Regions from separate parts of the Homo sapiens genome. Here all the other regions are linked to region 1. Evidence: promoter capture Hi-C in 16 types of primary human blood cells and fetal thymus (Javierre and others, 2016). All regions are on one chromosome and are shown on one strand. The core of a region is centred on a gene start or on the middle of the fragment in contact, and the rest is flanking DNA. Distances in the headings are between cores, read along the strand shown.

Region 1 (3,252 bases), core at 462-2,961:
GTATTGGGACATAATCCCATAGTTAAATTGAGGAGCATGTTATTTTATTTATTTATTTATTATTTTTTTGAGATGGAGTTTCACTCTTGTTGCTCAGGCTGGAGCGCCATGGCGTGATCTTGTCTCACCACAACCTCCGCCTCCCAGGTTAAAGCGATTCTCCTGCCTCAGCCTCCCGAGTAGCTGGAATTACAGGCATGCGCCACCATGCCTGGTTAATTTTTTTGTATTTTTAGTAGAGACGAGGTTTTCCCATGTTGGTCAGGCTGGTCTCGAATTCCCGACCTCAGGTGATCCGCCTGCCTCAGCCTCCCAAAGTGCTGGGATTACAGGGGTGAGCCACCACGCCCGGCCTCGGGCACGTTATTTTAAAAACACACCATCTCGGCGCGGTGGCTCACTCCTATAATCCCAGCACTTTGGGAGACCGAGGCGGGTGGATCACGAGGTCAGGAGATCGAGACCATCCTGGCCAACAAAGTGAAACCCCGTCTCTACTAAAAATACAAAAAATTAGCCGGGCATCGTGGCGGGCACCTGTGGTCCCAGCTACTCGGGAGGCTGAGGCAGGAGAATGGCGTGAACCCGGGAGGCGGAGCTTGCAGTGAGCCGAGATCCCGCCACTGCACTCCAGCCTGGGCTACAGAGCGAGACTCCGTCTCAAAAAACTAAAACAAAAATAAAAACAAAAAACACCATCTCAACTCCCTGACAATCTAAAGTTGGAACAGAAGCTTCTGATGTAGCCAGCCACCCAAATTCCCTTTTCACTTCCCTTTCACTCTGAAAAGCGCTTTTACTTTTAGTAGTATTAAAACTTCAAGAGCATTAGCCTCCCTAATAGTCCCTTTTATTCCTCCTATTAGATTATTTCTGTTCTTAAGAGGCAGCAGGAGGAGCCCTGTAACCAGCACGTAACCTTAGGCAAGGCCATGAACACGCCTGCGCCTGTTTCCTAACTTAAAGAGAAGCATTAGCCGGTCTCTAAGGTCCTGGAACTCCCGTCTGCTGTCGCTGGGCGTTCATTTGAAAGACAAAAGCGGTTCCGAAAGCACGCCCGGCGGTCCCTGCTCTGGGAGTGCTGACCTGCCTGTGTGCAGCACAAAACCGCTCCCTTCCGGCCCTCACAGCTAACCTGCAGTCCCCATCCCTCCAGCTTCCTTTCTGCCATAAATCACTAACTGTGTGGGAGATGAAATCCGCCTGGTGAAGGCTGGGACGGACAAAACACAGTATTCCAAAATCTAGGGCCCAAATCGGAGCCCTCGGAGACGCGGCCCCTAAAGCCAATGGGGTCCGGGGCGGCCCGGAAACTTCCGGGAGAACCGGACCCTGAGATTCTGGAAGGGCCAAATAGTGACCCTCTTCCCTAAAAATCACGGAAGAGACATGAAAACCACGGGATCTCCCTGGCAAACCTCAGGAGACAGCAGAGAACTGCGGAGCCGAGAAGGCGGGGCAAGAACTTCCGGGGTGGGGCTACGGCCGGGGCGCAGGGGTTGGCGGGCAGGGCCCTCGCCTCCAGCGACGCATCCACCCACCCCTGGGTCCGGCTCTACTGGGTTATCCTCGTTCCGCCGAGCAGGAGAGGCCGGGGGCGCCCGGGAGCTTGCAGGCGGGCGTGGGTGCTTGCGTTCTCTACTCGGGATCCGCGAGCAGGGCCAGCGAGAGGCCAAGTGTTGTGCCCTTCGCGACCCTCGCGTCTCTTAGTAACGCGATGAAGCTGCAGGAGCTCCCGGCTCCTTCAGGCCCCGCCCAGCTAGCTCAGGCCCCGCCCCCGGGAGTGGGCTTTTATGCGCATGCGCGAGGGCTGGGGTGGGCGCCGGCCCATCTTACTAAGCCAATGTAGGTCCCAGGTAGGAGCGCTGCCAGGGCTCACCCCTGAGCAGAGATGGAGGGCGAAAAAGGGTTACTTGCCGCTACTTGAATCCCAGACAAAATTCCCTGTGAAAGCGGATCACAGCACGGAGACTGTGTTTGTAGTTCCTGATAGTAGATATCTCCTATCTATTCATTTGCGAGGAATGAACCATTCCAGAGAGTCGCCATAGTGCCTGACAATCAGTAAACCTACAATAGATGATATCTATAGCTTTAATTATTTTTTCTAGCATTATCTATTACTATATTACAGTACTATCTAAGCGAAAAGTGATCAGATTCAAGATATACGGTTTTTTGTTTTTTTGTTTTTGTTTTTTTTTAGACGGAGTCTCGCTCCGTCGCCCAGGCTGGAGTGCAGTGGTGCTATCTCGGCTCACTGCAAGCTCCGCCTCCCGGGTTCACGCCATTCTCCTGCCTCAGCCTCCCGAGTAGCTGGGACTACAGGCACCCACCACCACGCCTGGCTAATTTTTTGTATTTTTAGTAGAGACGGGGTTTCACCGTGTTAGCCAGGATGATCTCGATCTCCTGACCTCGTCATCCACCCGCCTCGGCCTCCCAAAGAGCTGGGATTACAGGCGTGAGCCACCGCGCCCGGCCAATTTACATGTTTTGAATGTAGAGCCATCAGGACTTGTCAAATTGTTGAATGAAAGAAAGGAGCAATTGTGTGCTGGAGCCAGCTCATTAGAGCTCTGGAGACTCAGTAATTAAATTTTTAGGAATTTTTCTGAGCTCGTTGTTAAATACAAGCCATGAGCTGGAGTCAATGAAGATGACAAGGGCCTCGGGCACCTGCCCCAAACAAAACAAAAACACAAGACATATCACAAATTAAATTATATAAACTTCTAAATAAACGAGTCATACTAAAACAAAGGCAATACTTAGTAAAACTAAAAACAAAAAACTATTTACTTACAACTCCCAAATTTCTCTCTTCAGCCCGGTCTTTCTCTGAACTTTAGATTTGTATATCAATGTATATTCAACATCCACTTGATTGTACAAAACAACCTCCCCAAACACCTCCCTGCCAAAACAAAAACAAAAACCCTGCTCCTTCTTCATGTCTTTTAGTAGATGTGGCCTAGAGCCCTCTCTTTCCATATCCATCAATGCAACCTGCTGACTTTATAGCTTCTACTCAAGCCATCATAATTTTTCTTTTTTCTGGTAATTACAACCGTTCCCAACAGCTCTCTATGCCCCCTCTGTAGTCTGTTGTCAACACAACAGTCAATGCAATCTGTTTAAAACCTAAGTCAAGGCCGGGCGCGGTGGCTCACACCTGTAATCCCAGCACTTTGGGAGGCTGAGGTGGGCAGATCACGAGGTCAGGAGTTCGAGACCAGCCTGGCCAATATG
Region 2 (3,252 bases), core at 264-2,763, 470 kb after region 1:
GGAGGTACTAGGAGCACCTCCCATGATGGCTGTAGAAACAAATTTTTGTGTCATGAGTATAGAAGAAAAACAGTATCTGTTCATGGAGGACACTCCTTGTGTTTTCCCAAACACAGATTTCCATAAAATATAAACCACAAGAACAAGGATTTAAAGCAATGTGCAGCCAGTGAGAAATATTTTTTCCCTTTTCCTTTTTGTTTAGCTGTTTATTAAATTGAATAATTCTGAAGCCCGTCTTCCCACACTCCAGGCATACCATTTGGGGACAGGCAGGCACAGATATATGCCTCGGAAGCCCAGGAGGTTGAGAGCCTGGATAATTTTTCCTGATGAGGGTTGCAGCTCTTCCTGGGTTGCTTGAGAACTTCCTTGGCTTCTGAAACATCCAAGTGCCCCGGGAATTAACATCTTTGCCTCCTCATGAACCCATCAAACCAAGATCCAATTGCATCAGCAAGTGTACTTCTTACTGTGTATAGGTAGTAACTCTTCTTTCCTTTCCTTTCTTTTCCTTTCTTTCCTTCCTTTCCTTCCCTCCCTCCTTCCCTTCCTCTTCCTTTCCTTTCCTTTTCCTTCCTTCCCTCCCTCCCTCCCTCCTTCCCTCCTTCCTTCCTTCCTTCCTTCCCTCCTTCTCTTTCCTTTTCCTTTGTCCTTTAATTCTTTCTTCTGCTCTTGTTTTGATTTATAAAGACAAGAGTGTTGTGGCTGAAGCTTCTGTGGCCTTCACACTTGATTCTACAAGAATTTGCTAAAAACCCCATAGCAGCCTAGAAAATCATCAATCATCTTTTGGATGACATGTGTCAGGCCACTGTTCCCTCTTTTACTGGAAAAGAGGCTTTCAGCCAGCCAAAGGGTCAGGGAGCAAAGCAGAGTGACTATGACATGCAATTGCCTTCCAATCTGGAAAGAAATGCCATGTGCCACAGAGGCAGTGGGAGATCCTGGCTTTCCAGCTATACAGGGCAGGTGTGAAATCCTGTCTCATCTGTGCATTCACTTAAAAAACAGTCGATTGCATACTGTCAACTTAAAAATCACCCAATCTATACATTTGGAAAGGAGATCTTATTTATTATAAAGGGTTATAGCCTGCAAGGTGGTCATCTTGACTGGCTGGGAAGCACAGCCTAATATGCTATTCAGTGGAAATAGCGTATAAGACTGAAAAATAATATTATCAACCCCAAGGCAAGCACTTGGAGGAAATGAAACAGGAATTTATGTTGAATGGGTTGGTCTACAGATTACAGGAAAAGCTAAGCATTATCACAAAGTGAGGGCACATGCATGATAAGCAAACATGCACGTTACATGTATTCCATGTTCACTTTGGGGCAGAGACTTAACATTTAAGTGTATTCAAGTTAGACCCTATACATCAAAAGGTGAAGCAGGGACACCAAGATCCAATTGCATCAGTGAGTGGACTTCTTACTGTGTATAGGTAGTAAACCTTTCCCTCCCTCCCTCCCTCCCTCCCTTCTTTCCTTCCTTCCTTCCCTCCTCCCTAGCTTCCCTCTGGCACTGAGTGCACAGCCTCTGTAAACTGGCCACAACCAGTCTACGGTCAGCAGCCTCTGATCAGGACAAAGTTACTGAAATCAGTCTCTTCTCCAATCAAAGCTGTAGTGATGGCTGGTGGGATGGGGGTCAGTTAATCAGCATCTGGAAGTACACGAGCTGCAAATTTTTTTTTTTTTAGATGGAGTCTCGCTCTTGTTGCCCAGGCAGGAGTGCAGTGGCGCGATCTTGGCTCACTGCAGCCTCTGCCTCCTGGGTTCCAGCGACTCTCCTGCCTCAGCCTCCTGGGTAGCTGGGATTACAGGTGCCCGCCACCACGCCTGGCTAATTTTTGTATTTTTAGTAGAGACGGGGTTTTGCCATGTTGACCAGGCTGGTCTCGAGCTCCTGACCTCAGGCGATCTGCCCGCCTCTGCCTCCCAAAGTGCTGGGATTACAGGTGTGAGCCACTGCACCTGGCTGCAATTGTTTTCATATTGCTTATGTCAAGGCCAGTGTTTGTTTAGCTGCTAGAGAAAAATGAAACCTTGTGGCCGTTAGAACATAGTTTATTCTTTTAAAGTGTAGGGTGTGTGGCTTAACCCTTGCCTGGCAAGGCTTTAGGTCCTGTTCATAATTTGGTATCTTATGGCCACAAAGCATCCGTATCCCATCAGTCTGATGATTTCTATTTTAACATGAATGCTGGTCAGTTGTTGTAGCTAAACCACAAAAGGGAAGGGGTATGACAAGATGTGTCTGACCTCCTCTTCCGTCATGGCCAGGAACTTCGTTTTTAAGCTTTTTCTGAGATTCCCTTAGCCAGAAGCGGGTCCATTCACTTGATTGGAGGTCTCTTGTTTTCTTACAGTGTCAAAACTTGACTAGTTGTTTATAAGAAAACATGGAACTGTGGTCATTCTCCAGTTCTCGGTACTATGGGCCAAGTCCTGTTATAGGCACTGGTGAGGTATCAGTAGATACACCAAGTTTACTGTCATCATCACAGAGCTTGCTAACTAGTAGAGGCAGCTAGATAATAGACAAAGTGAGTACATTACTATATTTTGTTGATTCTTAGAAGCATGATGTTTCACATTAGCAACTTTGAAACTGGGGTGCATTCTATAATCGCTGGCATCTTATCATTGCTGCTGGCCGGGCAGCTGCCTTTAAGGAATTGCCATTTCCCCCGAAGTTGCAAACCTGAGAAAAGCTGCTCATAGTGTTCCTGCTTCAGCTCAGCTGGGCTCTTTGCCAGTACTATGCGTAAAGGATTTATTTTGCCATTCAAATGTCTTCAAAAAGATTCCACGATGATCTGAAATTGAAACAAAAGGTTATTGTGTACATGGAGAGGCATGGAAACCCAAAAGCAAGTATTCATCTTTGGGAGAGTGACCACAATTCCGTGTTTCCTTATAAACAACCAGTCATGTTTTGACACTGTAAGAAAAGAAGATACCCGCAAGAGGGTGAAGCTTTGTCATGTCTTACTACTGAGCTATGTTTGCAAAAGGACTGCCTATCACATGCAAAGGTTTTCAAGGCATGAGAAGTCTCTTAAAATCTCCAAATTAGTAAAAAAAAAAAAAATTGGTGAGGTGTTGAGGTAAGAGGCAGGACTCACCTCCAGAGGTGGAGCTCGGACACCAGATCAGATTGAGGACTAGCTGAAACAGGGCCAGGATGAAAGCAGCATTCAATCAGACCCACCCACCAGTGTACCAGGTCAATTTACTGTTG
Region 3 (3,252 bases), core at 344-2,843, 450 kb after region 1:
TATTACTCTTTCCGCTCCTTCTGGTTGAATACTTGAGATAGACGCTTAGGAAAGGAGCTAGCCAAGCCCTGGAGAAATGCTGACTCTTTGGATTTAATTTATGAGGCCTAATAGAAGCCGTCACAGAGGCTGGCTAAGGGTAGAATTAGCAGCAGAGAGTAGAGGCTGCAGCCTTCCCTGCTGTGACTTCATGGTTGAAGCTTGAGGTGCAATCTCATGGGGACCTCCTTGGTTGGTTGTCCGTGGTTATTTACTCATTTAAGAGGTTCCAGGAAATAATGGCACCTGTGTTAGCCAGGTGCCAACAAACAGTGAAAGTAGCATGATTAAAAACATTTACTGTGAGGCTGGGCACAGTGACTCAACGCCTGTAATCCCAGCACTTTGGGAGGCTGAGGCGGGCAGAACACTTGAGGTCAGGAGTTCAAGACCAGCCTGGCCAACATGGGGAAACCCCATCTCTGCTAAAAATACAAAAATTAGCAGGGTGTGATGGTGCGTGCCTGTAATCCCAGCTACTTCTGGAGGCTGAGGCAGGAGAATCGCTTGAACCTGGGCGGCAGAGATTGCAGTGAGCTGAGATTGCGCTACTGCACTCCAGCCTTGGTGACAGAGCAGGACTCTGTCTCAAAAAAGAAAAAAAAAAATGCCACCCAGGAGGGAAATACCTTACACAACAGGCTGTGAACCAGAATCAGGGTTTGGAGGATCCTCCATTAGAGCTGATAGCCAGCCTATAAGCTCAACGAAGAAAAATTCACTGTGCAAAGTCACATGCATGAAGGGAATATTCTAGCTGCTGCAATGTGGCTTTAATTCAGTGAGTTGGTGCTTTGCTCTCTAGGGGAACTTGCTGGAGTTTGCTCTCTTTCTTTCCATTCCCTTTTCCTTCCTCAGTGATTTCAGTGTTTCTCAGAGATAAGCGGTCAGATCAATTAGGCACACGTGCTTACTGAATATGTTGACAAGATATCTCGCTAGGAGCTAGTTCCAGCACTGGAGGTGTTTATAATCTTGTTCAGAGATGAGACATTGCATAAGATGTAATAAATAATAAGACATGAAATAAAATGCCACATGAATACTTCGAAGATAAGAACTATAGGAGCAAATTAAGAAAAGAAAATACACACACTAAATCAAATGGTTTTATTGTTAGATAGATGTTCGTATTAATGTTCTCCGAGGGAAGCCGTGGAAATTAATGGTTCAAATGATGTTTTAAATTAAATGTAAATTTTATTTCTTCTTGATCTTCCTCTGTGCTTCCCAGACTGTTCTTCAAAAAAATATGACTGAACAGTTTGAAAAGCCAGGTTTTTTGTGAGTAGCAGTAATAGGACACTGGGGAGAGGGAGAGCAGGAAGTGGGAACAGCAAATAAGCCTGCTGCCTCCCCGATGCACAACTGCTTGCAGTGTTGCTAGGAAACACCTGTCGTTTATATCCAAAGAACTTCCTGAGGTGCTTGAGGTTAGGCTATGGGTGAGTTTTGATTTGCGTCCTAGCATTGAAATCTGAAGACCTGTGTGGTTTGCTGTGGCGTAGTCAATAACAACGAAATGGCTGGCTGTCCCCATGCACCTGCTGCGGGTACCTGGTTGCAGGAATGAATGGGGCTCTGGGGAAGTGTGTGTTTCCTGCTCAGGCTGTGTGTTTATCCATTTTCATCACAATGCCCAGCATTGGGAATACAATGCTGAGCAAAATCATATCAGCCTCTGCCTTTTTGGAGCTTAAAATGGAGTGAGGAGACAAATATTATTCAAAGAATCACAGAAATGCATGTAAAATGACAACTGTAGTGAGTGGTACAAAGAGAAGGGCAGGGAGCTGTGAAAACAGGTGCCTCTGCACCTAATGGCTGATGAGCAGAACATTAGTCTCCAGCCATTGCTGCTCTCCATGTGCCAGGCACCATGCTCAGTGCTTAACATTTGGGATCTAATGGAATTCTCACCATATTCCTATGGGGGGAACCCTGTTGTCATCTCTACTATAGAGGAGAGGGAACTGAAGGTCACCAAAGTTAAGTACAGTGGTCCCTGCTTCTCCTTGGGGGTAAATTCCAAGACTCTCATTGGGTGCCTGAAACCATGGATAGTACCAAACCCTTTATATATTATGTTTCTTCCATCTGATAACCAAGATGGCTACTGAGTGACTAATGGACCAGTAGTGTAGACCTCGTGGATATCCTGGACAAAGGGAAGATTCCCATCCTGGGTGGGATGGGGTGAGATTTCATCACACTATTCTGAATGCCCTGTGATTAAAAACTTATGAATTGTTTATTTCTGGAATTTTCCATTGAATATTTTCGAACCGTGGTTGACTGTGGGTAACAGTCAAGCCATGTAAAGTGAAATCGCATATTAAGGTAGACTACTGTAACTGAACTGAAGGCCTTCTCCTCCAAAATTTCGCCCTCATCCACAGTCCCAGTCTTCGTAAATGGCACCACTTTCCATCCAGTCCTGTAATTTGGAAATTTGGGAGTCATCTTTGACCCAGCCTCACCCTCCATATCCAATGGAGTTCTTTCCACTCTACCTTGTAAATATCCAGTGAATTTCTCCACTCCTCTGCAATCCCACTACCCATTTTAGAACAGCAGCTTCCTGGTGGGTCCTCCTGTCACTTTTGCCTCAGTCTGCTTTGTGCTCTCCAAAGAAGTCCAAATGATCTTTAGCAAAGGCAAATCTGACTGTGTTCCTCCCTTGCTTGAAGACTTCCCATTGATTTTAGGGCAAAGACCAAAATCCTTAACATGGCCTCCAGGCCCATCATGCTCTGGCCCCTGCTTGCATCGCCAACTCCTCTTGTACCTCTGCCTTTGTTCTCCTTGTTCCAGACTTACCAGCCTCCTCTCTGCTCCAGGGCTTTCCCACCTACCAACTGCCTTTCCTCAAAGTTCTCATTCTCCCCTTTGTGCTTAGTTAACTCATGTTGGACCCTTAGATCCCAACTTCCTTAGGGAAGCTTTCTGAACTGTGCAGAGCAGGTCAAATCAATCTCATAACACAGTTTTACTTCTTCTTTGCAACATTAGGTAAATTAATCCTTGTGTAATTACTTAATGTCTCTCTTATGTATATGAGCTACGAAGTTGGGTATAATATCTGCCTTGTTCACTGCAGTATTCTCCATTTAGGGCTTGGCATACAGTAGGCACTCAACACATATTTGTTGAATCAATAAGTGAACTTCCCAGAGTTCACATGGTCAATATATGGCAGAACCAGGACTCAAA
Region 4 (3,252 bases), core at 444-2,943, 430 kb after region 1:
ATTTGTGTTCCAATCCATGCAGGTAAAAATGACTAAACCAGAAATGTAAATGAGGCAGGCCAAACCAAAGATTACAAGATTAAAGAACAAGGGCTGAAATTCAGGCCCAGCGCGGCGGCTCACGCCTGTAATTCCAGCACTCTGGGAGGCCGAGGCAGGCAGATCACCTGAGGTCAGGAGTTTGAGAGCAGCCTGGCCAACATGGCGCAACCCCATCTCTACTAAAAATACAAAAAAATTAGCTGGGCGTGGTGGCACGCGCCTGTAGTCCCAGCTACTTGGGAGGCTGAGGCAGGAGAATAGCTTGAACCCAGGAAGCGGAGGTTGCAGTGAGCCGAGGTCATGCCACTGCACTCCAGCATGGGCAATAGAGCGAGACTCTGTCCCCCCGGAAAAAAAGAACAAGGGCTAAATTCAAATCAAATTTTCCCTGTACCCTAAGAAAAATAATTAGGCCGGGAGATGTTTGACTAAGTGAGTAGGCATTGTTCTGTGACGGTCTGAGCCCCAGACCTTTCCTCTGGATGAATGCTGTCCCAGGTAATGAAATGACTTCACTTATTAATATATAGGTACACAGAGTTCAGGTAGATGTGGAATGAATGGGGACTCGCCCCGTCTGCCCTTGAATGTATTTAGTGGTTTATGTGAAATGTACCTTTCAAAGTTGTCTGTATGTTTCATACTCTGGGGGTGGGAATATAAATCATTGCAGCCTTTTTGTAGGGCACTTTGGCAGTACTCATCAAAATATGCGATGTGCAGATGCTTAGCCAGCAACTCCGCTTCTATGAATCTAGCCAACAGAAATACTTGTAGAAGTGTGCAGCTATAAATGTCCACAGAGGCTCAGAGCCTCATTGTTTTTAATAGTGAACAGTTGGAAACCAAATAGATGTCTGTCAGTAGGGATGTGGCAGAATTGTGGCATGTTTATATGGGTATAGAAAGTATGGAGGAACATAGACCCAACTGTTGGTAAGAGTTATCTCTGGATGCAGGAATAGGTAGGGGTTGATGGGTACAGGGTCTCTACTTTGCATAATTTTGGGGCCACTGTTCACATAGAACATTTGCGATGGAGTGGTGCTCCTCGATTCGTTTAATGGAGAGGGTTTGGATGTGCTTTTGCTTTTTATTTAACACATGGGTATATTACTTTTCTTTTTCTGCAAAGAGCACTTATTAATTTTATAGTTTTTTAAATTGGCTTTGCCCGCTTCAGTAGTCACAGGTAGCTACCTGACCGAGAAGCCGACTTGGGAATTACTGTTACTCGTGGGTGATACTGTCATAAAGGGGTTGAAAGTACTTGTTAGCTGTATATGTCAGAATTGATTAAAGAGAACCAACTATTCTTGTGCAAGGGATGGTATTGTAGTTAATTATGACATTTGGAGAAACTAATTTCTGTCTGTCGACACTATCTCTGTTCCATTTAGACTTAGAGACTTACATGGGCAATGCTTGACTTTTTGCATTCAGCACAGAAAGTTAAGTAATCCACTGTGGTAAAATATTAACTAAATTTATATGACTTCTTGACTGCTGTAAGTAGAGAATATTTATCATATAAGCACCATTTTCCTGAATTTTTTGTTACTACATATTTTATCTTACTGTCACTATTGTGTAAAATCTTTGAAAGGAAAATGAATACTGTGTAATAGTTAAACCCATTCATAGGTTGCAATAGAGTGTCAGCCAAATGTGTCATACATCAAATCTTCAGCAGCTTTTGCATAATCCAGGAGAATTGAATAATAGTTGAAGTTAATTTTGCCAGTGAAATGTAGGGAAAGAAAAATGTTTGAAATTTAAATTATTCAGATAGCTAAATTCTTAATCCTAAAATTTAAACCCCTTAATTCTGTCTGTAGTGTTATATCAAGACTTTTTGATAGTCATGAAACTGAGTAAAACTTTATTCAGATTACTTAAAAACAGCTTTTCCTGTGGTTAATAACACCTTTATTTTGAACAGAGTACTCTTAAGCAACTTATATTGTGCTGATTAAAGATTTAATCTGTGCATATTTTTTATCCTGTTGTTTATTTAGTTTTGATAACTGTGAAATAAACCATAATTAAATCACAAAAGTCACCTGCCTCTTTTGTTTCCCTGGAAATTTGGCCAAATTTTTTTTAACGGAAAGTTCTGCTAATGAAAATTGGGAAATTGGAGACATATATTATTTTGACTGTGTGTCCTCTGTCATTAAAGATGGACTATACTAGCTGGGTGTGGTTGCTGATGCCTATAATCCCACCACTTTGGGAGGCCAAGGCAGGTAGACGGCTTGAGCTCAGGAGTTCGAGACCAGCCTGGCCAACATGGTGAAACCCCGTCTCTACTAAAAATACAAAAAATTATCCGGTCGTGGTTGCGGGCACCTGTAATCCCAGCTCCTCGGGAGGCTGAGGGAGGAGAATCGCTTGAACCTGGGAGGAGGAAGTTGCAGTGAGCCGAGATTGTGCCATTGCACTCCATCCTGGGCAACAAGAGGAAAACTGTATCTCAAAAACGAAAAAAAAAAAAAAAAATAGAGCTGGGCGTGGTGGCATGTGCCTGTGGTCCCAGCTACTCAGGAGGCTGAGGTGGGAGGATCGCTGGGGCCCAGGAGGCAGAGGTTTCAGTGAGCTGAGATCATGCCGCTGCACTCCAGCCCGGGCAACAGAGAGAGCCTGTCTCAGAAAAAAAAAAAAAAAAAGATGGAATATACCGATTTTTACTCTAAACAACAACTTTGAATTAAGTTTTTGTGATTTTTAAAAACATCTAGATAGGAGAGATGCCAGAATTTTTAGAAATTCTAGATGAATGAGGAAGTATGCAATTGAGGATTGGTTTACAGATGTGATTGTGTGGACTTTAAAGGGATCAAGGTGAGTGTGCTGTTGAATTTCTCTGGCCGGAGCACATATATTGGAAATTGTTATTTAACAGTTGCTCAGATGACTCCTAGTTGGTTAGTCACGGTAGTTGATAGGAGTCGTTTAGAGAACAACCCTGTCCCTTGTCTACAGATTAGCAGTCATCAGCAGCCGGACCAGGAGGTGTGTGGGAGGTGCTCAGGCCCATCCTGGAGTCCGGGACAGAGTCAGCAGTGCTTGTTGCCTGCAGTTCAGAAAAGCCTGAATTACTGTTCCACCACATGCCTGCGTGCGTAGCATGAGTGTGTGTGCGCTGTTACCTACACCCTGTGCTGCCTGAAATTGAAAGCGCTTTTCCTGTTCGGTGGTTTGTCCTAT
Region 5 (3,252 bases), core at 15-2,514, 410 kb after region 1:
GGGTGTCCGTGTTCCCAGTTGTTGACCCTCGGGTGCGTCTGTCGCGTCTGCTCTCTTCTCCTCCAGGCAGGGAGCTCCTGGACCACGTCTTGCTCCCCTCTCGATCTTCAGGCCCACCCTGTGCTCCCCCGTAGGAGACATAGTAACTGGTTCAGCCAACCAGGTTAACTCAACCAGCGAGCGCTGTGGGTCCTGGTCTTGCTGACAGCTGTTGCTTTACTCCTTTCTTGTTTTTGGTGTCCTCCCTGCGAAGCCTGCGTATTGGTTGTTCACAGAAAGCCCACCAGGTGGTCTGAAGAGAGGGAAGTGGGAAAACAGACTTTAATTAAAAGGGCCGGGGCCATGGAAATAGCTGTTCTCTAGGGTTTGGTTAGAGACAGACAATCCTCCAAAGACCCAGACAGAGATGTGTCCCTGTCCTCACGCTCAGTTTTCATTGCGGAAGCAGAAATCAAATAAGAGCCAACTTAAATTCTTTTAATTATGGAACATTTTAAGCCTACAGAAAAAACACATCATTGTTACCGTTGTTTCTGGCATTAAGGTCTCTTTTTTCTTTTTAAGAGTGAAAAATGAAGTTTTCCAGACAAACCCTTAACTAATTCAGTATTTCAAAAGTGAAATACAGGCTGAACATCCCAAATCTGAAATCTGAAATGCTCTAAAATTCAAAATTTTTTGAGCACTGACATGCTGCTTAAAGGAAATGCTCACCGGAGCATTTCAGAGTGTAGATACTCAGAAATATTCCAAATATGCTAAAATTGGAAAAGCTTTGAAATCTGAAACACTTCTGGTGTTTCGGATAAGGGATGCTCAACCTGTAGTGAGTGAGTGGTTGGAAGTTAGAACATATTCTTCTGTAGAAACAAACCTGTTTGACCCACAATTTGGCCAATATACGGAGATTTGAGATGAAAAACTTACAAAATGATAGAATGACTGGCTGTCATTTTACCAGTAAGGAAACAAACCCAGAGAAGTGAAGTCAGGATTTAGGTTTGTGGACCTTTTATTTAAGGTTCTTTCTACTCTGCCATACGTTACTAGTGACTTCAGACAACAGTGTCGAATCTCATCAGCCAAAACCCACCAGGAACACAACGTGTAGTTATACAGAAGTTGGCTTCGTTTAGCTTGCTTCTGCCGGGGCCAGTGTACCCAGAAGAACCCTGGGACTATTTTGGAAAGGCAGACTTGGGGTTGTTGTTGGACTGGGTGATTTGAAGGTGGAATTAGGGAAATGGGACCAGATCTGGGTTGGATGTGGCCAGGAGGCAGAAACAATTCAGTGATTGGGTATCCAACAACTTTTATCTAGGAGGTAGGAGATTAAAGTAGAGTTAGAGTGGCCATGCAGTAAAGAATTTGCAATCATACATGTTGGTGAGAAAAGGGGGCATCTGGTTATTTTTGTGGTAGTAATGTGGGCCCATCTGTGTCCGTTTTTGAGCATTCATTATGTTCTGATGGGAATATGGGGGTCAGGTTGTCAATTAGACTGGTCTTTACTTTGAAGGTCGGTAGGGTTGAATTTAATTTGTTCACCAACTTACTTAATTTCATTCTGAATGCTGATGCTTGAGGAATAGGTTTTAATGGAGCAAGATGCAGTGGGAAGTAGGGACTTAGAGGATGTCTAAATAACCGTGTCTGAGCAGTCACTGGTTTTTAAACATTGTAGCTGCTCAATGGTAATAATGCAAATTTTAAAAAAGGCAGATGGGTAGTTTTCGCCTAGCTTGAGAAGCTTTAAAAATCATCATGACGACTGTACTATCTTAAAACGTGATCAGCTATAGAAGCAGATAAAACTGTCGAGCTGTTATTAAAGTGTACTTACAGTTGAAACATATTAGTCTTCAAAGATGCCATCCAGTTACTGATCCAGAGGTAATGTTAATGGTGGTGTTACTCACGGTGCCAAAACACCCACAGATCAGTAGAAAATGTGGACAGTCAATTTAGAAAATTTGCAAAGCAGTCAGAAGTGAGAGGCAGTGTTGGGTAGTGAAGAGTGGACCAGACTCCAATCTTGGTCCTAGTCCGAGCTTTGCCACTGTGTGGTCCAGAATGTCTTTGCCACTCTCTTAACTTAGTCATTTCATCTCTCTGGGCCTCAGTTTCCTCATCTGTCATAATGAGGAAGTTGAACACCTGGTCTCTGTGTTCCTTCTAAAGTTTCTGTCATTAAGTCTGTTTGAAGATAGTCTCTTCTTTTGAAAGTATTAGTTTGTTTGGCCAGTTGGGCCAGGTCATAAATATTACGGAATTATTAGTCAGCTCTTGAAGACAGGAATGTTTGAGGGCTTTGAAAGCTAGCCCAGCAGGAAGCTTTTCGTGGTCTGTGTATTTTCCTTCCTCTCAGGAATGATTAGGCCGAAATCAACCATCTTCTCAGTCCATCCTCTTTGTAGTTTCCTGAGATGAATGACCGAGGTGTTTTCTCCTCAGAAAATAACATAGGAGAAAAATTCCAAGGGAGGTCTCTTTATTCAGGAACTTGCAATTTAGGAATTAAGTGTGATAACTTTATTTTACCAATTTTAATTTTGTGACTATAACATAATATAAATAAGGATTCTGTTACATGCAAATTTTGAAATCATGCAAAAACCAAAAAAGGAAAAGAAGTCAATCAAAACTTGTATAATTTCAAAGATGGTGGCCAGGTGGTTTGGAAGCTGTGCATGGGATTGCCACATGGCCTCTCCCCTCTAGCAGGCAACAGGTGCCTTGTGTGTTTAGTCAGTATCTGCTGCATGTCATTGCTGATGGCATTCAAGTTTTTGCTTATGTGTGCTGGTATTTAATGTTCACTTAGATCTAAATATCTTTTTTTAGCCTTCAAAGATGTCAACCAGGTATTCATCAAGAGATATATTAATGGGGATGTTAGTGATAGAGCCCAGGACACCCCCAGCCCCCAGATCAATAGCTTTGTAACAGAAGCGCTAAACCACTATGAAGGTGATCAGACAACAGGGGGATGCATCCTGCCATTAATTTAGCAGAAAGAGCACACGTCCAAATAGGAGAGTTAAAATAGAGAGGTGCTGTAGCAAAGTGGCTCAGAGCATGGACTCTGGAGCTAGCTGCATGATGCTGCTAGCTGCCATTTAATTAGCCTTGTAGATTTAGGCAAGTCACCTAGTCTCGCTGGGCCTTAATTTCCCTATCTGTATGATGGAATAAATTTAATGTCTACTGCAAAGGTTATGTGACACTTAGCAAACATGATAAAACACAGGT
Region 6 (3,252 bases), core at 228-2,727, 390 kb after region 1:
CTCACAGTGGCTATGGCTTGTCTTGCTACATACACTGTGTAACCACCCTGCCCTGCTGGGCCTTGGTGTACACAGATATTGGGTAAAAATCTAATGTTGACCTAGATAAACATCACACACACACACACACACACACACACACACACACACCCACCACATTTTTTTGGTAGGTACGTTTTCAATGTCGTTTCATTTCAGAAAAAATATGGGCTACCCTTATATTAACATAGGACACTCAATTACCTTGTATGCATTCACATTTATTTACATACAGTTTTTTTCTGTAGCAATGATAAATGCAATCCTAAGTAATATTGGCTTAATATTTGGATGCTTTAATTTATAAAAGCTTTCCCTTTCTATGGCTCATGACAGTGATTTATATATTTATTGGTAGCTCTGTTTTAGAAAAGCGACTGAGTTGCTGGGTGTTTCTGCCCTAGTTTCTGGTTTCCGGGAACCTCTGGGCTCGCCCAGCCTGCCTGGTTGGCTGTTGGCTGAGGCTGGCCAAGGTTCTTGAAACTGTTGACACCTGTGAAGCTCTCTGTCCATCTCAGTAGGCGCGAGAGTCCCAGATCTTGTTTGGGGAAGCACGGCCTTGCATTGAGGAGGGAGAAGGGAAGAAAGAACTTGATTATTTCAGAGAAGAGACAGAGGAACCTTGGTTTCCCTCAAGGTCTTAAGTCTGGAGTACCTGTCACTTCTGCTGACCTGTGAGCTGACTGTGTGAGGGCTCCACCCCTCCAGTCCTGGCCTATTTCCATCTTTCCCAAAACTTGAGAGGAAGGTTACACTGAACAGAAGTACCTGTGTTGTTCTTGAGTTGAGGAATTTTTTTCTGCTATATTTTTTTCTAAATGATGCTAAAGTTTTTGCTGGAACAATATGTTGAGTCTGTCTAGCTTCCGGAGGACTTAGATCACCACATGTTATGATCTTAACGTAACACATGTGTGCATGCATGCATGCACACACACACACATATGTGCACAATGCAAACTGCAGCTCACCACAACACAACATGTACCCTCCCCTTCCTTTCATGGGGATAGGATAACTCGAATCTTCCTTCTGACTTTTATTGTCAAGAAATATTTTCTACACTCTCTATTTCTATATCAGTTGTTGGCAGTTATATCTGCAAACCCATGAGGGTTTTCTGGATTCAGATAACACACATCATTTGTGGAATATGAGGAATTTAAGGAGACTCGAGGGTGGGCAAAGATTTGAATAAACATCAGAACGAGGATGATTATTTGTGAAACAGACCTTTGAGAATTGAGTTCCAAGAGCAACAGACCTTTCGATGAGAACCAAAAAATTCATTCTGTAGCTCAGAAAATTCCTAACTTCATTTCTTCAGGATAAACATGTCATTATACCAAATAGCAATCTCAGTGTGTTAAAATCTACCTATGCACTGTGTCCCACAGACATCGTCAGATGCCAGCTCTCCTGGTGTTGCCATTTATTATGTTGCCGACGATTCTGGGATTTAGGATCCCACCTTCATGCCCTGTCTCTCCCCCTCCTTCCAGGTTCCTGGGACTGCTCTTTGCCTCCCCCTTCCACCCCACCCTCTCTCCCTTCCCCTCCAGCCTCTTCCACCAGGTGCTGTGCTCCTGCCTTGGGATCAGCCAGCTCCCATGCTGCCTCCTTCCCCAGTATCTTCACCTCCTGGTCTAACCCAGAGATCAGCCACCCTTCTCCTACCCGAGTATCTTCACCTCCTGGTCTAACCCAGAGATCAGCCACCCTCCTCCTACCTGAGTATCTTCACCTCCTGGTCTAACCCTGAGATCATCAGCCAGCCTCCTCTTACCTGAGTATCTTCACCTCCTGGTCTAACCCTGAGATCATCAGCCAGCCTCCTCTTACCTGAGTATCTTCACCTCCTGGTCTAACCCTGGGATCATCAGCCAGCCTCCTCTTACCTGAGTATCTTCACCTCCTCGTCTAACCCTGGGATCATCAGCCAGCCTTCTCCTCCAGTATCTTCACCTCCTGGTCTAACCCTGGGATCATCAGCCAGCCTCCTCCTCCCCCAGTATCTTCACCTCCTGGTCTAACCGAGAGCCACTCTCCGAGTTCAGTGCTGCCTTGGCTCCCTTGGGAATGGGAGTGCACCTTCTCCCACCCTGTATGTGCCTTGGGATCTGGAGGCAGGGCTTAGGTTCCTGCCCTCATGGCCACTTTTGGGTCATGACCCTTCCCCTCGCTGCTGCTTTGAGCCTTGTCTCAGTCGTATTCTGTCCTCTACCCTCAGTGCTAGCATTTCGTGGTCGTAGCTCCTCATTCGTTCCTTGAAAGTTTTGGCCCCTGGCTCACAGTCATCTGCTGCAGGGGTCAGTATTTGTCAAAGCTCACCGGGGACTCCATGGCAGCCGGAGCTGAGTGACCAGCAGCCTGGTTTGCCTGAGACTGGAGTGGCAGCAGGAGCTTTTTGGGATGGGGATGTTCAGTCTGAGGACTAAGGAGTTTCACAGGACGCAGGACTTTCAGTGCTCAAACTAGGAGGAGGAGGTTACCCTAAAAAGACACTGTTAATACCAGGAACCGCTTCTGAGCTGAAATCCAGAGATCCTACTCACCAGAAGCTTCTGTCCTTCAGCTCAGCTGACAGATTACAATAAGAACATCAGATTTTTCCCATTCCAGGTCCCTTTCCAACCCCTCTGCTCCTGCTGGACTTTGCCTCTGCTTTTGAATTCCAACATTTCAGCGATGCGCTTGTCAACGCACTGGAATCCCTTACTTCACTCTCCTGGGGGATTGGGCGGCCCACCCATGCCTGTCCCTGGACTTCTGAGTTCTGCCAGAGAAAGTTACACAGTTGCCTCTCTATGATCCTGATCTCTGCCTCACCAGGGCCTCAACACTGCCTGGAAATCAAATTTTCCTCATCAACCCTCTTCCTCTCCATAATGACTTTTCCAACCTCCTCCACACTTCTTAAATCTCTAGGTTCATACTGAGCCCATCCCTCCTCCTCTCATTTCACTCTCGGCAGATTATCTTTCCACAGCTCACGGGACAGTCGTGCGAAGGCCATTCTCTGACCTTCCCACTGCCCCTTTGCAAATCCGCCTGCTCTTGGGCCTGTACTTTTCTCATTTTTCTGTTTATAGTGAAAGAGGAATCTTATTTATTCTCTAGAAATCCATTTCTGCACCACCATTCTCTCCCACCTCCAATTTATTTATTTTTATTTATTTATTTATTTAATTTGAGACAGAGTCTCGCTCTGTC
Region 7 (3,252 bases), core at 341-2,840, 360 kb after region 1:
GCAAATGAGGGGTGTTTATGCTGTTATGCCAGTGCCCACAGCCTTTCAAAAAATGTTCTTTACAAAATGTTACTGCGATAAGAGCACTTAACATGAGATCTACCTTCTTAACAGATTTTTAAGCGTACGGTGTTTTATTGTTGACTGCAGGTGCAGTGTTGTAGGGCAGCTCTCTAGAGCTTATTCCTCTTGCTGAACTGAAACCTTGGGCCCATTGATTGGTAACTCCCCATTTTCCCCCACTGCAGTCCCTGACAACCACCATTCCACTCTTCAAGTCTATGAGTTTAGCTACTTAGATGCTTCATCTAAGAGGAGTCACATGGTATTTGTCCTTCTGTGCCTGGCTTCTTTCACTTGGTCCTCCAGGTTCATGCATGCTCGTGCTTGTGGCGGAACTGCTTCTTTTCTAAGGCTGCCTGGTATTCCACTGTATGTATATTACCACATGTGTTTACCCATTCATCTGTCCTTGATGGTTAAGCTGGTTCCACAAAACTCCTAGAAGAAAACATAGGGGAAGAGGTTCAGGACACTGGTCTTGGCAGTAATTACGCGGCTGCCACGCTAAAAGCACAGTCAACAAACCCAAAACTAAACCAGATTGCATCGAACTAAAAAGCTTCTGCACAGCAAAGGAAACAGTCAACGGAGTGAAAAGGCAACCTGTGGAATGGGGAAAAATGTTGGCAAACTACATATCCAATAAGGGGTTAATATCTGAGAAGTTTAAGGGATTTCCGCAAATCAACAGTAAAAAAATGAAGAACCCAACTAAAAAATGGGCTAAGGACTTAGACATTTCAACTCGGAGTTTTTTTTTATTATTTTGTCTTTTTGAGACAGAGTCTCACTCTGTCACCCAGGCTGGAGTGCAGTGGTGCCATCTCGGCTCACTGCAACCTCCACCTCCTGGGTTCAAGCGATTCTCCTGCCTCAGCCTCCTGAGTAGCTGGGATTACAGGCATGTGCCACCACGCCTGGCTCACTTTTGTATTTTTAGTAGAAATGGGGTTTCACCATATTGGCCAGGCTGGTCTTGAACTCCTGACCTCAAATGATCCGCCTGCCAATCCTCTCCCAAAGTGCTGGGATTACAGGTGTGAGCCACCGTGCCTGGCCTCAACTCAGAGTGTTAGTAATGCAGCCGGCAGTGATGTCAAGATGCGGACACAGGGACACTTGGAGGATGGGAGCTTTGTCCCTTGTCCCCACCTGCTCCTCAGTATCTCTTCATGCCTTCAGGAGAGTTTTAAAGATAACTGGGTTTTCATATTAGAAATAGCCTGTTTTATTCCATTCTTGGACAAGAGTTTTGGCATTGTTCCTAAAGTGTCATAGTAAAGTGTATAGGAAAGAGGGCTGTCATTACTGTGGTATAAGCTTTTCTGTGCCATTATTAATATATGGGACAGAGCATACTTTGTGAAAGTTAAAACTCACGCTTTATCCAAGTTTTAAGGTATCTGGTGAATGCTAATGAGTTTACAAAAATTGTACAGTCTTATGAAATCTTGCAGTATAAATAATCACAGGTGGTTTGTGAGTGTTTAATGTAGATGTATCAAAATTCCCATGTCCTGGAGGAAGTTGAGAATGCCATTTGTGCATATGCGTATGTAGAGGGGGCTTCATAATATTCTTTCCCTTGTAACTTGATTCTATTTGAAACACATAAAACTGGTCAGGGTTCTTTTTCATTTTTTCTTTTTTTAGTGGATGTGCAGGGTAAAGTAGTGTATCGGAAAGAGAGAGGCCTAGACTTGAAAGATTTTCAGACTTTTAAGCCTAAGCTTGCCATGAATGAGTATATGACTTTTGAGCATGTCATTATTTCTGTTTCCCAGCGTCGTCTTCTATAAAATGGAAATAGTCACACTCACCTACTTCTTAGAGTTGTCTTAGGGTGAGATAGAAGCCTGCATTCTTTATGCCTGCTTGTCCTTCTAGGGAATGCTCTGGAATTGGAACAGCATGTGGGCCACCCCTTAGGATAGGTGACTCTTAGAAGGTGAGAGGAGGCAGGGCGTCGGGTGTGCAAGAGAATCAGCTACATCATCTTTCAGGTTCCTGCTGCGGTGGGTGAATTCTGTTATTCTGTGCCCATGGAATGGGAGGTGTCATAGAAGTCATAGACATCAGACGTAGAGTTTGACCTGAGTGAGTCAGTTGCCCTCTTGGGGTTTGCATATTCTTACCTGTGAAATGCAGTAATAATACTGGTAATATTATTATTATCATCAATGAACAGTTTTTAATCATCTTATATGTGACCAGGCATGGTGTCAAGTTCTTTATGACATTTCTTCATTCATTCAGCAACTATTTAATGAATGCTGCCATATGCCAGTCATCGTTCCAGGCTCTGGGGATCAGTGGGATCACGGGCTAGCATGGTGGCTGGGACAGACAGACTCCCTGCCTGCATGGAGTTTATATGCTAGTGCATGACAGAAGGTAAACAGATACATGGATGAGGTGATTCCCATGGTCAGTGCTGTAAAGACAACTAAGTCAGTTCAGGGGGCTGGAGTCTGGTGGGAGAGCAGGTTGTGTTTTTATTAGGATGAGGCTCCTCCGAGGAGGAGAATTTGAGATCTGAGTGAGGCAAGGGGATGAGCCTCGCAGAAACAAGTGCAAATATCAGCCCAGTGGCTGGCAGGAGCTTGCTATGGAAGGAATGGCCAGAGGGCCTGTGTGGGAGGAGCCAGCGGCCAGGGCAGGAAGAGAGCTGTGCAGTGGGGTCCAAGGAGGTCTGGCAGGCCACGGTGAGGACGTGGCTCATGAGGAAGCCACAGGAGAGTTCTGAGCAGGGCGTGCAGGAGATGGACCTTGTATTTTGTCAGTGTGTCCCTGTGGTTGTGGAGGGCCACGGGGACTGCAGAGGGCCAGGAATAGAAGCAGGGAGACCAGCCGGGGTGCCGCTGGTGAGATGGATTGGAGTTGATACAAGAGAGAAAGGCATTGTGGGTGACACCTGCTCTTTTGGCCTCAGCCTTTGGGTGAAAGATGGTGCCATTGATTGATATGGGGAGACTGGTGGAGGATGAGCTTTATGATGTTCACATCAGCCTCTGGACTTAGTGTTGTTTTATTCCCATTTTACAGATGTGGAGACCAAGGGGGAGAGAAGTAAAAAGTTTGCCCTAGGACCTGGCCAACAAGGTGAAACCTGTCTCTACTAAAATTATAAAAATTAGCCAGGCGTGGTGGTGCACGCCTGTGGTCCCAGCTACTTGGGAGGCTGATGCA

What was found. The method cuts DNA at HindIII sites, captures the fragments that hold promoters and counts their contacts. A CHiCAGO score of 5 or more calls a contact.
Region 2: a fragment that was not itself captured here is called in contact with the fragment with the promoter of MEIG1 in region 1 in 6 of 17 cell types (neutrophils, M0 macrophages, endothelial precursors and 3 more); the score reaches 8.0 in neutrophils.
Region 3: a fragment that was not itself captured here is called in contact with the fragment with the promoter of MEIG1 in region 1 in 15 of 17 cell types (naive B cells, monocytes, naive CD8 T cells and 12 more); the score reaches 13.2 in naive B cells.
Region 4: a fragment that was not itself captured here is called in contact with the fragment with the promoter of MEIG1 in region 1 in 14 of 17 cell types (naive B cells, monocytes, activated CD4 T cells and 11 more); the score reaches 14.5 in naive B cells.
Region 5: a fragment that was not itself captured here is called in contact with the fragment with the promoter of MEIG1 in region 1 in 10 of 17 cell types (monocytes, naive B cells, total CD8 T cells and 7 more); the score reaches 10.6 in monocytes.
Region 6: a contact is called between a fragment that was not itself captured here and the fragment with the promoter of MEIG1 in region 1, in 8 of 17 cell types (fetal thymus, naive CD4 T cells, neutrophils and 5 more). The highest score is 7.5, in fetal thymus.
Region 7: a fragment that was not itself captured here is called in contact with the fragment with the promoter of MEIG1 in region 1 in 2 of 17 cell types (naive B cells and monocytes); the score reaches 5.9 in naive B cells.

What each region holds. Positions count from the first base shown.
Region 1 is chr10:14,957,847-14,961,098 of GRCh38, reverse strand. MEIG1 (meiosis/spermiogenesis associated 1) reads right to left here and starts at 1,711. Exons shown (of 3, transcript NM_001080836.3): 1 at 1,542-1,711. RefSeq lists a silencer at 1,439-1,488. The HindIII fragment of the contact is 3,683 bases long and covers 737-3,252 here.
Region 2 is chr10:14,487,281-14,490,532 of GRCh38, reverse strand. LOC124902380 (a long non-coding RNA gene) reads right to left here. Exons shown (of 2, transcript XR_007062062.1): 1 at 3,137-3,252; 2 at 2,058-2,827. Among named protein-coding and RNA genes, the nearest start is that of MIR1265, 52 kb to the right of the region's middle. The HindIII fragment of the contact is 1,593 bases long and covers 717-2,309 here.
Region 3 is chr10:14,505,596-14,508,847 of GRCh38, reverse strand. No RefSeq gene overlaps it. Among named protein-coding and RNA genes, the nearest start is that of MIR1265, 71 kb to the right of the region's middle. RefSeq lists enhancers at 1,617-1,676, 922-2,193. The HindIII fragment of the contact is 2,781 bases long and covers 203-2,983 here.
Region 4 is chr10:14,523,327-14,526,578 of GRCh38, reverse strand. The region is part of intron 3 of FAM107B (family with sequence similarity 107 member B); the gene reads left to right. Among named protein-coding and RNA genes, the nearest start is that of MIR1265, 88 kb to the right of the region's middle. The HindIII fragment of the contact is 9,482 bases long and covers 1-3,252 here.
Region 5 is chr10:14,545,051-14,548,302 of GRCh38, reverse strand. All of the region lies in intron 2 of FAM107B (family with sequence similarity 107 member B), which reads left to right. Among named protein-coding and RNA genes, the nearest start is that of MIR1265, 110 kb to the right of the region's middle. The HindIII fragment of the contact is 977 bases long and covers 776-1,752 here.
Region 6 is chr10:14,567,132-14,570,383 of GRCh38, reverse strand. The region is part of intron 2 of FAM107B (family with sequence similarity 107 member B); the gene reads left to right. Among named protein-coding and RNA genes, the nearest start is that of MIR1265, 130 kb to the right of the region's middle. The HindIII fragment of the contact is 2,251 bases long and covers 352-2,602 here.
Region 7 is chr10:14,595,537-14,598,788 of GRCh38, reverse strand. The region is part of intron 2 of FAM107B (family with sequence similarity 107 member B); the gene reads left to right. Among named protein-coding and RNA genes, the nearest start is that of MIR1265, 160 kb to the right of the region's middle. RefSeq lists enhancers at 2,259-2,759, 2,760-3,252. The HindIII fragment of the contact is 410 bases long and covers 1,386-1,795 here.